Regions from separate parts of the Homo sapiens genome. Here region 1 is linked to region 2. The links are contacts of gene promoters, found by promoter capture Hi-C in blood cells and fetal thymus (Javierre and others, 2016). All regions are on one chromosome and are shown on one strand. The core of a region is centred on a gene start or on the middle of the fragment in contact, and the rest is flanking DNA. Distances in the headings are between cores, read along the strand shown. Region 1 has its middle 89 kb from the start of PMAIP1. Region 2 holds the start of CDH20 (cadherin 20).

What was found. The method cuts DNA at HindIII sites, captures the fragments that hold promoters and counts their contacts. A CHiCAGO score of 5 or more calls a contact.
Region 1: a fragment that was not itself captured here is called in contact with the fragment with the promoter of CDH20 in region 2 in 1 of 17 cell types (M2 macrophages); the score reaches 5.2 in M2 macrophages.

What each region holds. Positions count from the first base shown.
Region 1 is chr18:59,985,284-59,992,655 of GRCh38, reverse strand. No RefSeq gene overlaps it. Among named protein-coding and RNA genes, the nearest start is that of PMAIP1, 89 kb to the right of the region's middle. The HindIII fragment of the contact is 875 bases long and covers 2,739-3,613 here.
Region 2 is chr18:61,327,876-61,334,865 of GRCh38, reverse strand. CDH20 (cadherin 20) reads right to left here and starts at 1,436. Exons shown (of 12, transcript NM_031891.4): 1 at 1,039-1,436. The HindIII fragment of the contact is 13,774 bases long and covers 1-6,990 here.

The DNA of each region.
Region 1 (7,372 bases), core at 1,927-4,426, 1.3 Mb after region 2:
CTGTAAATAATTCCTAATTTCCTTTCTTGTTTCCTTTTCTTCCACTGGGTTTGATATTAACATAGAGAGAGGTTTTTCTGTTTCTATCTCCTTTGGAGACAATAGATAGTAAGTGGGTTAATTACTCAAAACCTGATTAGAAAATGGCATTTTCCCATTCCCAAGAATACATATTAATTTGATCACAGAAGCATCAGATATTAAGGTATCCTTATTTTCTCCACCTTGAAGAAAAGTAAAACATTATTATTTGCTGGCATGGTTTCCTGTCTGTTGGCACTAATTTAATCCCTTGTTATCATGGAAACTTTACTTAAGAGCTTGGAAGTGTGGGGGGAAAAAAAGATTGCGCTCTTGCAATTAAGCTTTCAAATCGATACAAAAAGGAAATAGGTTCCAAACTTGTGTTAGCGATAGGTAGAATGCCAATTCCTTCATTTACAATAGAGAGGAATATGCCTTTTCAGTGGGTAATCTGATTGGATGAATTAATATATGTAAAGAGGGATCTTAAAACATCACATTAGGGCAGGTTTGCTGGCTCACACCTGTAATCCCAACATTTTGGGGGCCAAGGTGGGAGAATCACTTGAAGCCAGGCATTTGAGACTCACCTGGGCAATATAATGAGACCCCATATCTACAAAAAAAATCTTAAAAAATAAAAATTACCCAGGCATAGTGGCACATGCCTGTTGTCCCAGCTACTGGGGGAGCTGAGGCAGGAGGATCTCTAGAGCCCAGGAGTTTGAAGCTGCAGTGAGCTATGATCATGCCACTGCACTCCAGCCTGGGCAAAATAGTGAGAGGTCCTGTCTCTAAAATACAAAATAAAAATAAAAACATCACACATGCCCCACAAGTATATACAGCTACTAGATACCCATAATAATTAAAAATAAAAAATTTAAATATGTATATGTAAAGCAGAAATATCTCAGTTAAAAGCCATGGAAGTACTAATGAAAAAAGAGATACTGAAGCAAATATTGTCAGCGTGACCCCAAGGTACTCCCAGTAAAAGTCTTTTCCAATGGATTCTGCACAGTCTACTTCCACTGGCATCCTAGATTTACTGTGAAAAGATGAACCAAGCTAAGCCTGCCATTCATCATTTGATTCCTCTAAACCCCCATGGTTCACACCAGACATCACAGGGAAACGATTTTATTTCTCTTGGTGTATAAAGCTAAAGGTCTACTCCCAGGGAGAGAATGACCTGGTCAAGTGGACCTGCATGTCAGACCCCCAAGCTTTAGAGCAATGATGCTCAAACTTTAGCATTCCCTGGGAGATTCTGTTAAATCATAGATCCCTGGATTCTACCCCCAGAGAATCTGATTTAGTAGGTCTGCAATGAGGCCCCAGAATCTGCCATTTAACAGTTTCCCAGGTGATGATGATGATACTGGTCTAGTGACCATACATTGAGAAACAATCCTTTAGTTAAAAGGATATGTGGCAAAAAAATCTACAGATGATGGGATGCTGGGAAAGATTACATTCAGTCGTTTATATTTTATCTGTGAAGAAGGAGACATGGTAATCAGGAAAAAGGGATGGAATTGGAGAGAGAAAAGCTTGAGCAAAGTGTGAAAATTTTAAAATAACTACCACAAGGAATGATTAGCACTTGAGCAGTGCTAAAACCCCAACCAAGGTCAGCAAAGGTAATTATGGTGAAGCTTCACTGAATAGTGATGATATGCTAAGTTCTATTTTGGAATCTTGAATGTATTTATTGCTCCTAAAAGTCTCTGTATTAAGAACTTTTGTTATCCCCATTTTCCAGGGAAGAAAGCAGGCTCATAGGTCTAGTAAGTGGGAAAGCTAATATTTGAATCCACAAAGTTTAATTGCAGAGTTCATACTATCAGCAATCATGCTAGTCTGAGACTAAATCATTAAACTTCTTCACTTTGAAATGGAGAAGTTTAATGATTTAAAACTTGGGCTCTTATCCAAAACCCAAATGGCTTTTTTTTTTTTTTTGTGGTCAATGTTGAGACCACATTAAAACATTGTTTAGATGTTCTCACTCTCTGCTGATGATAGCATTGGAGTGAAAGGGAGAGATGTGAAAGATACAGCAGGACAAGACAAGCAGAGAAGGGTGGGCTGGTTTCTCTGTAAGAGCCTCCCAGCTTGGAGGGTTGGCCATAATGTAGCTGATCCTCAGCTTTTCAGATCAGCTACTAAACTCTCATGTCACCAATAGATTGGATGCCAACTCATTTATTTACAGTGAAGGGGGATGCACCTTTACAGTGGTAACCAGAATATTTATATTCCATCTCCAGAGCATATTCTTCCACCAATCAAAGTACCTGCGATCCAAATTAGTCATCAGAAAGCCATTTGTTGGACAGAGAGTCAGACTAGAGGAAGTAAATGGAGGTGCCAATATTTAACTAGGAGATGCTGGTATGATCAGGCAGGTGTTTTCAGCTAGCATCCATTCTGATATCTATATCCATGCTACAGTGGTTGATAATTTTTTTGTATTTAGGTTATCTAAATGATAAAATGCAAGAAACGATGAATTACAGCCACTCCATAGGAATATTCCATTTAGAAGCAAGCAGCAAAAAATAAAATAATGACTAGCACTATAAAGTAAAACATCTCATTAAGAAAGAGATCGTCAAATGTTTAGTGTAATTTGGAAGAAGATGTCTAAGAAATTTCCAAGTAATAGAAATTTTTTTAAGTTTATATATTTGGCTAAGAAAAAAGCTTCAGTTTTCTTGGAAATTTAATTATGTACCAAAGTGAATCCCCACATGATATAAATGAGAATATCTACTAAGAAACAACTAACTATAAGACCCCTGGTGTATTAGTCCATTTCTGCACTACTATAAAAAAACTACCTGAGACTGGGTAATTTATAAAAAGAAGGTTTAGTTGACTCACAGTCCCATATGGCTGGGGAGGCCTCAGGAAACTTACAGTGATGATGGAATGGGAGGCAAGGCACACCTTACATGGCAGCAGGAGAGAGAGAGTGTACACGAAGGGGGAAGCACCATCAACGCTTGTGAGAATTCACTCACTATCATGAGAACAGCAAGGGAGAAATCCAACCCCATTTTTCAATCATCTCTCCCACCAGGCCCCTCCTTTGACATGTGGGGATTATAATTCAAGATGAGATTTGGGTGGGCACACCGAGCCAAACCGTATCACCTGGTGATGGCTCCCCTGGCTTAGAATTTTAGATTACTAAATGAACAGGGCAATAACACAGGTACTTATCTAAACATAAGCAAAGACCAGCTACTTGTAAAGCAAATATTTTAACACACTTAAAAGAGTCAAATGGCCACATAAAAAGGCCAGAATAATTAATTATTTTGGTTATTTTAACTTTACCCAAAATAGAAATATGTATATTGTGTGTATAAAGCTAAGAACTAAGCTCACGCATAAAGCCACGCATTTTTAAAGATGTGCAAAATATCACTTTCCAAGGATATTCATACCTAACAGAAACACTGTTCCATTATGTAAAAAACAGGAACATGTTGCTAATCCAGCATTATTTACATTGATGGGCTAAAATGCTAACTTGAAATAATTACTGGATTGGTTCTGTTCAATTACCAAAGCTTGACATTCACCTAAAAACTCCCCATTCTGAGTTGTTGCTACAAAAAGAAACTATTAACCACCTACAAAGTAAGTCAGCACCTTATTTCATCTGCCTACAACACCTCCATTACACACAATACTCCCTGAGAATAGTATTAAAAGATGAATAGTGATAAAAGACAAAACCTTTTTTAAGAGCTAGTAAAATCAGCCTCACCAACACACAGATTACAGGCATTTTTTTGTTTTGTTTTTTGAGATGGGGTATTTTTCTGTGGCCCAAGCTAGATTGCAGTGGCACAACCATAGCTCACTGCAGGCTCCTATGTTCAAGCGATCCTCCCACCTCAGCTTCCCGAAGTGCTAGGATTACAGGCATGATCCACTGTGCCCAGCCTAACAGGCAATTTTTTACTACTATAATTCAAAAAGTATTTTAAACACTATAAATGTGTAATTTTTAGCACATAAAATAATTGCCTCTAAGCATACTTTTATTTATAGAATTTCTACAAGTGTAATTTTAAAAAAACCCTTAAAAATTCTCCCCAAAATAAATAGCACTTTTTCACAATATGACATTTTAAAATGTTAAACTTTGGACTATATGACAATTGGACAAAAAATGTAATCTAAGCCAATTTGATGTTCCTCAACTAAAATGAGTAAGATGTTATCAAACTTATGAAATTTATTCAGCAATTTTAAAGACGTTTAATTTAAATACAGGCTGATTAGTAACCTGGTGTCTGGCGCCATCTACTGCACAGCAGCAGTAACTTCTCCCTGTATGTTTCTTCAGCTAGACTGCAAATTACTTAATTTATGTAAGAAATATGTACCTGTGTGAAAACGACTGGAAATTAATTTGAAGATAGAAAAATAATTGCTGTGTTTAGAGTGTTGCTTTGTCTTTTTTTTAATGGCCTTATATTTTTTAAGAAAATATATTGACGAAAATTATTTACAGAACAAAAAATACAACTTGAGAAGCTTGGACAAAATGAGAAAGTGAAGAGCACCAAGGTTGGGAATGAATTTCTTACGATCCCTTACAAGGTGATGGGCATGGTAGATTACCACAAAGCTGAGGATGGTGACCTAAGTCATGTGACAGTTCAAAATTAAAGACCTGCTTTTTCTATTACTATTTATAATTAAAACTTGTTATCTAGCATAACATAAATCAAGACTTATAAATTAGCCCTATGAGAAATGGGTTGCTCACATGATCACCTAACGCTAATGGAGGAAAAGATATGAAGACATTCTCTGAATTGTCAAACAAAAATAAATGTATGATTCATATAGTTCAGTTTGATAGAAGTTTCCAAGATAACTGTGCTGGGGAGTATAAGGTTCCAGGGCTTTGTTTGTACCATATAGACTGCAACCTTGTGGGCTGCTAAACACTGAAAAATGTTGATGTGCAGATACCTTTCCTGGTAGCCATTCTTATACATTCTCCTTTCCTACATATTGTATAAGACCAGTTATCTTAGGCTGTTCCAGCTGCTCTAACAGAGTACCATAGCCTGGGTGTCTTACCAAAAAACAGAAATTTATTTCTCACAGTTCTAGAGGTTGGAAAGTCCATGATTAAGGCAGATTCGATGTCAGTTAAGATCCTGCTTCCTGGTCATAGCATCTTCTCACTGTGTCCTCACATGGCAGAAGGGCAAGGGAGCTCTCTAGAGTCCCTTTTATAAGGCCACCAATCCCATTTATGAGGGCTCCGCCACCATGACGTAATCATTACCCAATGGCCCCACCTCCAAATACTGTCACTCTGGTTTTGGTTTCAACCTATGAATTTGGAGGGAATATAAACATTCAGGCTATAGTACCAAGGAACCTTGAGTGTCAAGAAGGTAACTTAGATATGTTTGTAGGTAACTTTTCCTCCATAGTTCTTTTGGAAATTACAATTACGTATCCCTGTGTTGACTTGTTTGTTTCACACCTATCTCCAAGAGGACCAACATTAAGCTATTTCCATTTTGTTCTCTACTCTATCCATAGTACCCAGCACAATGCCTGATACATTCCCACATATACAGCATGGATACAGTAGGCACTCAATGAAAATTTTGACTAATTAATTAAAATACAGACCTGGGGCAAAAGTGGGGGTGGGAGGCAACTTGGAAAAGTAAAGAGAGGATGATAAAGGAAAAGAAGAAACAAAAACTCCAACATTCTATTTATTGACCCTCATGATAGGACCAGAAATTGCTCCAGGGATTATTTAATGGAACTGAGCAATATTTGCTTGGCCTATGAGCATCTCTATGTTTTAAATTCCTACCAATACCTGATAAGACACATGTGCACACACAACGCTCTTCTCAAGAGGACTCAGTACCAATGGCTGAAGGCTAAAATGCTATCACACCCGGTGTCAATCAGGGTTCCAGCAAAGAAGCAGAACTCATAAGAGTGGGATTCATTATAGTGATTTGACCCCACAGAACTGTGGGAGTTGACTAAGCAGTTTACGGGGCTTTTGTTTCTGTATCCAGGCCCTGGAGGGAATGGGTCTGTCATTAAAGAAGAAAAGATGGGCGTGAGTAGGAAAAAGCAAGGAGAAACCATGGCCTACAAGGACAAGGTGGAACATACGTGGCCAGGCCGAATCCCACCTCAGTCTCTCAGTGCCCCCAACTTCAGCGAGGAACGTGACCTGCTGGTACTCGTCCTCACAAAGGTAAACACACTCCCTGGGCACAGAAGCTGGAGCAGCTGTGAGGCCAGCTGCTGCCCATGTCCCCAGGGCGGCCAACAGAGGTGCAATCACACACGTGAGCAGAACAGGTCCCGGGCCCTGCACCCACCTTCTGAGCATAAAAGCAACATGCTGCTGCTTCTCTTCCGCCTTCCAAATCTCGTACATCAGTGTCTCTTCTGGACCACACTAACTATGCAGGAAACTCTGCAGGGAAGGGAATTCAGGGAACTATCATTCCAGCTTAGCTTCATTGACTCAATACAAATCTACTACATCAAATTTGATGATTCGGTTTTGTTTTACCTGCGGGCGAATCTACTCATTACTGCAAGGGAGTACCAGGAGTCTCACACAGGCAAGTGTAGCACACTCAAGACCTTTCCTTGGCCAGACGCGGTGGCTCATGCCTGTAATCCCAGCCCTTTGGGAGGGTGAGGCGGGCAGATCACAAGGTCGGGAGTTTGAGACAAGTCTGGCCAACATGATGAAACCCCATCTCTACTAAAAATACAAAAATTAGCCAGGCGTGGTGGCGGGCACCTGTAATCCCAGCTACTCGGGAGGCTGAGGCAGGAGAATTGCTCGAACCTGGGAGACGGAGGTTGCAGTGAGCCGAGACCATGCCATTGAACTCCAGCCTGGGTGACAGGGCGAGACTCTGTCTCAAAAAAAAAACAAAAACAAAAAACCTTGCCTCAAATGGAGACTGCTTGCTTAGACATGAGTCATCCTCTCTTAACCTAGAATCAAACTTTACAAAGTCAAACATAGGCAGATGCCGCAATCATATTTACAGGTAAAGCTAATGACTTCCACGTGAGGAGAAGCTTACTTATAGTAATTTCAGTGTAAAATTGCAAGAACTAAGATGTGATCATTTTTAAATCATCTTAATAGCTAACATGCCCATGATGACTTACGTGGTCACAATCACGCTAAATGCATTACATTGGCCAGGTGCAGTGACTCACACTTGTAATCTCAACACTTTGGGAGGCTGAGGTGGGCAGATCATTTGAGCCCAGGAATTTGAGACCAGCCTGGACAACA
Region 2 (6,990 bases), core at 187-2,686:
TGCTCGTGCCAATAACAAGAGCATTAATAATAATAGCAACAACATAGTAAACTCTGAATCTACCAGGCGACCAACTCCCCGATTGTCTGGTACTATCCCCTCTCACTTCCAGCCTGGTCTCGGCAGAAACAAACAAAACAAAACAAGGCTCTGACGCTGCCTCCGGGCTGCCTTCCAGATTTCAGCCCCCACTGCTGCCCCAGAGGCGGATAGCTAGGCAAAGGCTGCTGCAGTCTCTCCGATTGCTAAGGACACGTTGAGAGTCCTCGGTAACGTTCTCTTTGCAAATCTGAAACTTTAGCCCCATTTGACCCCCTTGCCCCCGGCTCTTCCCCCAGAGTAACTACAACAAGCAAAAACCAAACAGCGAGCGCAATTCAGAGCTTTCCTTGGGAGTGTCAGGGCCCGAGGACAGGAAATCCGGGGAGTTGGCGAAGTCCGGCAGGTGGCGGGGACTCGAGTACCCACCACATTCTCCTCCCACAGCCGAGCTCCGGCGGGGGCGCGGCGCGAGGCACGGACCAGGGATCGGCCCCGTAGGTGCCTGCGCCTCCCCGGAGCCTGGCTCTCTGGTCCCCTTCCCGGCGCACATCTCTGTGCGAGGGACGCGGCCACCCTGTCCCCTCTGCAGGCGGAGGGAGGCGCCACCGCCTGCGGGGCCAGCGAGGGTGAAGCCGTGCCAAGCGCCCCCACAAGCCGCGCTCCTGGATCCCCAGTCACCATCCCCAGGCGCGCGCAGTCCCCGCTCCCAGCGCGCCACGTCCTCCACCTGCCCCGGTGCGCCCCAGCTTCCCTGCTTCCAGAGAGCAGCTCCCCCAGTCCCGGCAGCCCATTTCCAACCCCTTCTCCCACTAAGTCCGAGGAAGTCGAACTCGGAGCGGCCGGTAGGCTCGTCGAGGTGGCAGGGAGTTGCTGGGAGAGCACAGCGCGGAGAGGGACCGCGCACGCCGCCCGGGGATTTCGCCCCAGAGGGCTGGCTCCGCGCGCCCGGAGTCCCAAGCCCCAGAAGCGGGGCCCGACCCGAGCCCTCTGCGTTACCTGGCACCGCCGGCGACTCTCCGGAGACCTTCGGTCCTAACTGCTCCAGGGCGGGCGTTCTGCTCACGTAGCTGCCTCCCCCACTGGGCGGCTGGTGCCCCGCTGGGTCTCTTCACCCCTGCTCGCGGCGCTGTCCCCGCCCCCCACCCCCCTACCCCCTCTGTCAGAAGTGTCACAGCTTTTCTGCCTTCGGATGTTTCGCAAAGTCTCCGTGCGGTTGCCAGGAGTTGGGGGGTACTGCCAAGTGCACCAACCCCGCCGATGCCCTGCCCTGCCCTCCCGCGGCCACCGCGTTCGGCCTGTCCAGTGAGAAGAGCCCCCTGGTCGCGGTCACCGTCCCCCGAGCGTGGCGCGCGGTCCGCTTCCCCTCCCTCGCGCCTTCCCTAGCAGGAGTGGCTGCTGCCTGCCTGTACCGCGGGTCCTCATTCCCCTGCTCATGAATATTCTGACAGAGGCTAATGCCGCTGAAGTAAATTGAATTAGCCAATTGGTGCCAGGAATGTGCGCTCCTTCCTTCTGAGGAGCTGTCTGGAACCCCACCAGATGAAAGCAATTAACGTCCGGTTGGCACCCTGTGGTTTAGACCAGTGAGGGGCAAAATGGGTTAATTCTTTAAATGCAGTTTAGATACCGCATTTAAATGTTTCAACTCCTCTATTGGCTGAGAGCGTAAGGAAATGTTAAGAGGGAGAGAGAAGAAAGGGGATGTGTGGACGTGGGGAGGGGGGCGGGGGTATTTACATCTAAACTTTCCCCTGAAGTTGAGGTAATTATTTTGCACAGATTCTGGAAGAGGCAATTGAGGAGTAGAACAGGATAAGGCAAATAAAATCAGAAAGGAAATGAGTACCAACTCGGGTTTAACCTTGACCTTGAGGGTGCAAAAGACATTGTTTTCAAGAGGAGAGGTAGGGGAAGATGGCATGTGTGAGGGAAACCTCACTCATCGACTTTTAAGAATTTCTTCAAATGCTCAGATTTCCTTTTCTTTTTGTCCTCATAGGAAAATCTTAGAGTTTTAAGCCTTTAACTAGAGATGGGGTGGAGGTATATTAAGGGTCAGAAATTTCTGAGGTGGAAGCTGAGACCACCCTTCTCTCCCAGATGAAGGGGGTCCCCCAAATCACACAATACTGTGACAGGCCCATTCCAGAAGGCAATTCCAGCTCTTATTTCTGAGGTCAGAATACACAAGGTCAAAAGGAGAGATCACCTCTCTCCTGTCCTGATTCCTACCCTAGAATGTCAAGTTACTGACGACAACTTGGGTTTCACAGTGGCTGGAGGGGGACTTTTTGCCCGATGTGGTTTCTACATTTCTCTTCAAGCAAGGTGCTTGGAGGATTTCCTCCCCCATCACTGATTGTAATAGAGCAAGTTATTTTGATTGAATTGATAGGTTACTAAATAATCTATTTGTACAACTGCTCTGTGGCCAAATGATCAATGTGTGTAAAGAACTGATAAAATGATATATATAAACATCCAATAAGATTCCCAAGTGTGTGACAATAGAAATAGTATCCCAGTTAAGGCAGTCATGCCATATTTTAATAGCTTTCAGCAGGCCTAGAATTAGAACTCATAGTTATAACAATGATTATTAATAGCAGAATAGCTAATGTTTATGGAGAACTTGTTATGTGACAGACATGTGTTACACATGTTATTTCATTTCATTTTTCCAACAACTCTATTCAGTCTAGACTATTATTTCTCTATTTTAATAGATGATGCAGATGTGGCTCAATAAAGTAAGGGCAGTTGACCCTTGAACAACATGGGGGTTAGGAGCACTGACCCTCGTGTAGTCAAAAATCCGCATATAACTTTTCACTCCAAAAACTTAACTACTAATAGCCTACTGTTGTCTGGAAACTTTATGGATAACATAAGCAGTCGACTAACACATATTTTATATGCTATACATTTTATATGCTGTATTCTTAACAATAGTCTGGAGGAAAGAAAATGATACTAAGGAAATAATAAGGAAAATGAAATGTATTTACTATTCATTAAGTGGAAGTGGATCATCATAAAGGTCTTCATCCTTGTTGGCTTCATGTTGAGCAGGTGAAGGAGAAGGAGGAAGAGGGAGGCTTGGTCTTGCCCTGTCAGGGATGACAGATGGGAGAAAATCCATGTCTAAGTGGACTCATAGAGTTCAAACTTTTGTTGTTCAAGGATCAACTGTAGTGTGTCCAGGTCATATAGCTCATAAGTGGGGAGATCAACTTTGACCCAAAGGACTCTGATTAGTGGTCCAGGGCCTTCCGGTCTCTAGCAGCTTAAACTGTCTTCTTGTCTAAAAAGAAAATCAGTTTCTTGGTGTTTTGTTGAAGTGACTTGTTTTTGGTGATCAATTTCTTACACAAAATTTAGAGAAAATCATGAGTCTTTTTTTTTTTTTTTGGATAGTGTGATGGTTAATTTTATGGGTCAACTTAACTGAGCCATAAGGTACTCAGATATCTGGTGGAACATTATCGTGGAAGTTTTTGTGAGAGTGTTTTTTGGATAAGATTAGCATCTAAATTGGCAGACTGGATGAGGGAGAGAGATTGCCTTCCGTAATGTGGGTGGGCCTCATCCAATCAGTTGAAGGCCTGAATAGACCAAAAGGTTGATCTACCCTCAGATAAGGGCTGGCTTTTCTCATGTTTTTATAGGTTCTTATGAGAAGTCTTTGGGATGAAAGATGTCTTCTTTTACCTTCTACAAACGTGTGTTTGAAAACTTTTTTTTACCAAAATTATATTCCATTTACTGAAAGGAAACAGCACATTATAAAGTGCTGTTTCTCTGCACAGAGCTTGTGTCTAGTTTTTAGGACTAGATATTTGCATATTTTTATAGGTCTTATGAAAAGCCTTTGGGATGAGAAATGTCTTATCTTCTACGATGGTAAAATTTTCTGGCCTGATGGGAAGAATTTTCTGGCCTGATGGCCTTCAAACTCAGACATCATCTCTGCAGATTATGGATTTGCCAGCCTCCCTAATTGCATGAGTCAATTCCTTATACTATATCTACCCATCTACCTACCTACCTGCCTACCTACCTACCTTTAGTTGGTTCTGTTTCTTTGGAGAACTTCAACTAATACAAATTGATATATTCAGTAAACACAACTATTTGTGAATCTCCCATGGATATCAAATGTCTCCATCTCCCAATACATTGGTACGCAGTGTGCAGTTTTTTTACTTAAGATTTTCCAGGCCTATTATTAATAAGGTAAGAGCAATTTTATTTTTCCTGTTTTTTTAAACATGGGTGAGACTACCAGATTTAAATAACATTTTATCTTTCAAGTACTGAAAATGGACTATAATATATTAGATTAAAGCAAAATTTATAGATATTATATAAAGGGAGAAATTTGAGTATTATAATTTTAGGGATAAGAATGATCAGGTTAAATCTTTGAATTCAACAGTTGTTGAGTACCCACTAAATGCAAGGCACATGTCTATTCAAATGTTTTCTGTTCAAATCCACAGTTAAATCCCTTTTAAACGTTGAGGATCTGCCATATTTTATTCTCTGAAACTTTGGGTAGTTTAAAACTTTTTATGTTAAAAAAGTGTATGACTGTTTTATTCTCATATTAAATACTGATGATTTTCCCAATCATGATTCCTCCCTTACAATGCTCTGTTAGTTCTTCCTTTTACAGAGAGAATCCACTTAGGATTTAGAAGCAGCATTTCACAGAAATGTCTTTAGATGTTAGAATATGTATTTATATGAATATGTTAACATGATTTTAGAGCTCATAAAATGTTATCAGGATGAGTGCTTTCTATATTTCCTCAAGAGTCTCAGTGGGCAGAGTCAGGGGAAGACCACTGGAGTCTGAGCGGGGACACTGGCTCCTTGTTGCAGGTGTGGGCCCTCTTGGATAAGCCATTCTCCTTTGGAGTGAACCAAGTTAGTGAGTGTGCAAAGTGGAAAGAATAATACACTCTTTATTGAGTGCTTTGCTACTTGCAAATTGCTCTCCCATATGCTTTCTCATTCCATCCTTCTGACAACCCTATGAATTCAGTATTATTATCTATATTTAATTGATGAGGAATCTCAAGCTCACAGAGATTCGGTAGCATTCAGAGCTTCTCCTAGGAAGGGATAGAACAGGGACTTTAATCCAGGAACAAAGTCACCTTCTCAGTGAAACTGTGTTTGACATCTCCCTCTGCCTTCCCTCCCTCAGCCCTGCCATGCACACACACACTTCTTTTTCCAGTGGAAATAACAATTCCCTCCTTCGTGCTCCCTTAGGACATCCAAGATGTGTAAATAAATTGTTACAACGCAATGTGTTGTTTCTACCAGTAATCAAAAGCAAACTGAAGTCAGTAACTTTGTCTTAATAATTTTTGTGTCCCCAAATTTAGCTGAATGGGAAGCACTCAGCACCAACACCAGTCCTAGCACACTTCTGAAAATGTGTTCCATTGACTCTACTGGGCTATCAGGAATAAATGAAATAGTTGGTAGGTGTCTGGAAATTTAAAAACACCATATAACGATATTATTGTTATTCAAAAGTAGATTCCGAAACAAATATAATAATTTCAGCCTTGACCTCTGGCTGATAAATTCTATGGGTGAGAAAAGCATTTGATAACTTTTATGTCAGCTTCTGTTTTGGGGACATGGATGGATAACACTTGCTCAAATTATAATCATCTGGTTAATAGTAGCACTAAACTGGCCCATTAGGCAAGAAGGTATTCGTCTGGGAGAGGTGAGTCAGTGTGTGTGTGTGTGTGTGTGTGTGTGTGTGTATGTGTGTGTGCATGTGTGTGTGTGTGCAGTCTTTCTGCATTTTAAGAGTATTTTTTCGTGAATAAGCAGTCTCAGCCACTAGTACAGCTGTATTTCTCTAAAGAAGGGCCCTGCTTTTCTCATATAGGATGATCTTTATGAAGCGCTCCCAAGGTTACAGAGTTAATGACAGAGCTGAGGCTCCTGACCCCTCGTTCAAGGCTATTTTCACTACCCCACACTGGCCTTGATTGGCAGCCATTGCCCATACAGTGTGGTTTATGGTTTTAAGATTGAGATGAGAGATAAGCAGTTCAATATCTCATTATAATTAGTCTCCTGAGTCAGCTAATACCCTTCTAATGCAATTTGGCAATCTAGATTATTCAGTATTATCCATTCAAGATATTTTTGGATGTGTAATGATAATTATTTAGTAGAACTGATGACAATGACACACCAAAAACACTTTTATGCCTTCATAGCCTGTCTTTTCCATACATATTCATTAATGAACAGTTGATTAAAAAAATACACACAGACAACATTCACAAAGTTAGGAATTCCTACTAATCTACAGGTTCTTTATTTTCTGTAGCAGTTGTATGTAATTCAGATGATGTTTCTGGACTGATTTTATTAAGGACATTTGCAGTTTTGTGTTATCTTACTTTTGTTTTTGTGTAACATATACTTATTTTGTCCTTTAAATTTATGGGTTAATCAGTGACTTTCAGTCATTTTCAGAAGAAGAAATTGGTTCCCTCACTGTAGATGTCTGTCGATTCCTGTCTATGTCTCACTGTGTTCGTGAATAAAATAGAGAAAAAATGTATCTCACCACCATCACCTCCAAGAAGAACTAGCTGTAGAAACAGTGTTTGTGACAACCTTCTTAAGTTGACACTACTGATCCATTCAGTTGAATCTGACAAACGAACACGATGTCCTTGCCATGGGCAAGGTGCTGTGCAAGTGATTGTAAATGTTTCAAAGAGGAATAAAACCAATGACTGCTCTCAAGGAGCTTATAATCTGGGAGAGGGGCCTTGATATTTAGCAAAACAAAAGATCTAAGGCAGAAATGGAGATTTCCTAGTAAAGGATCTAAAATGAAGGGTCGTGGGGGCCCCGTAAGTAGAGAAAGATTCTTTTCAGTAGGGGAGGGACAGAAGA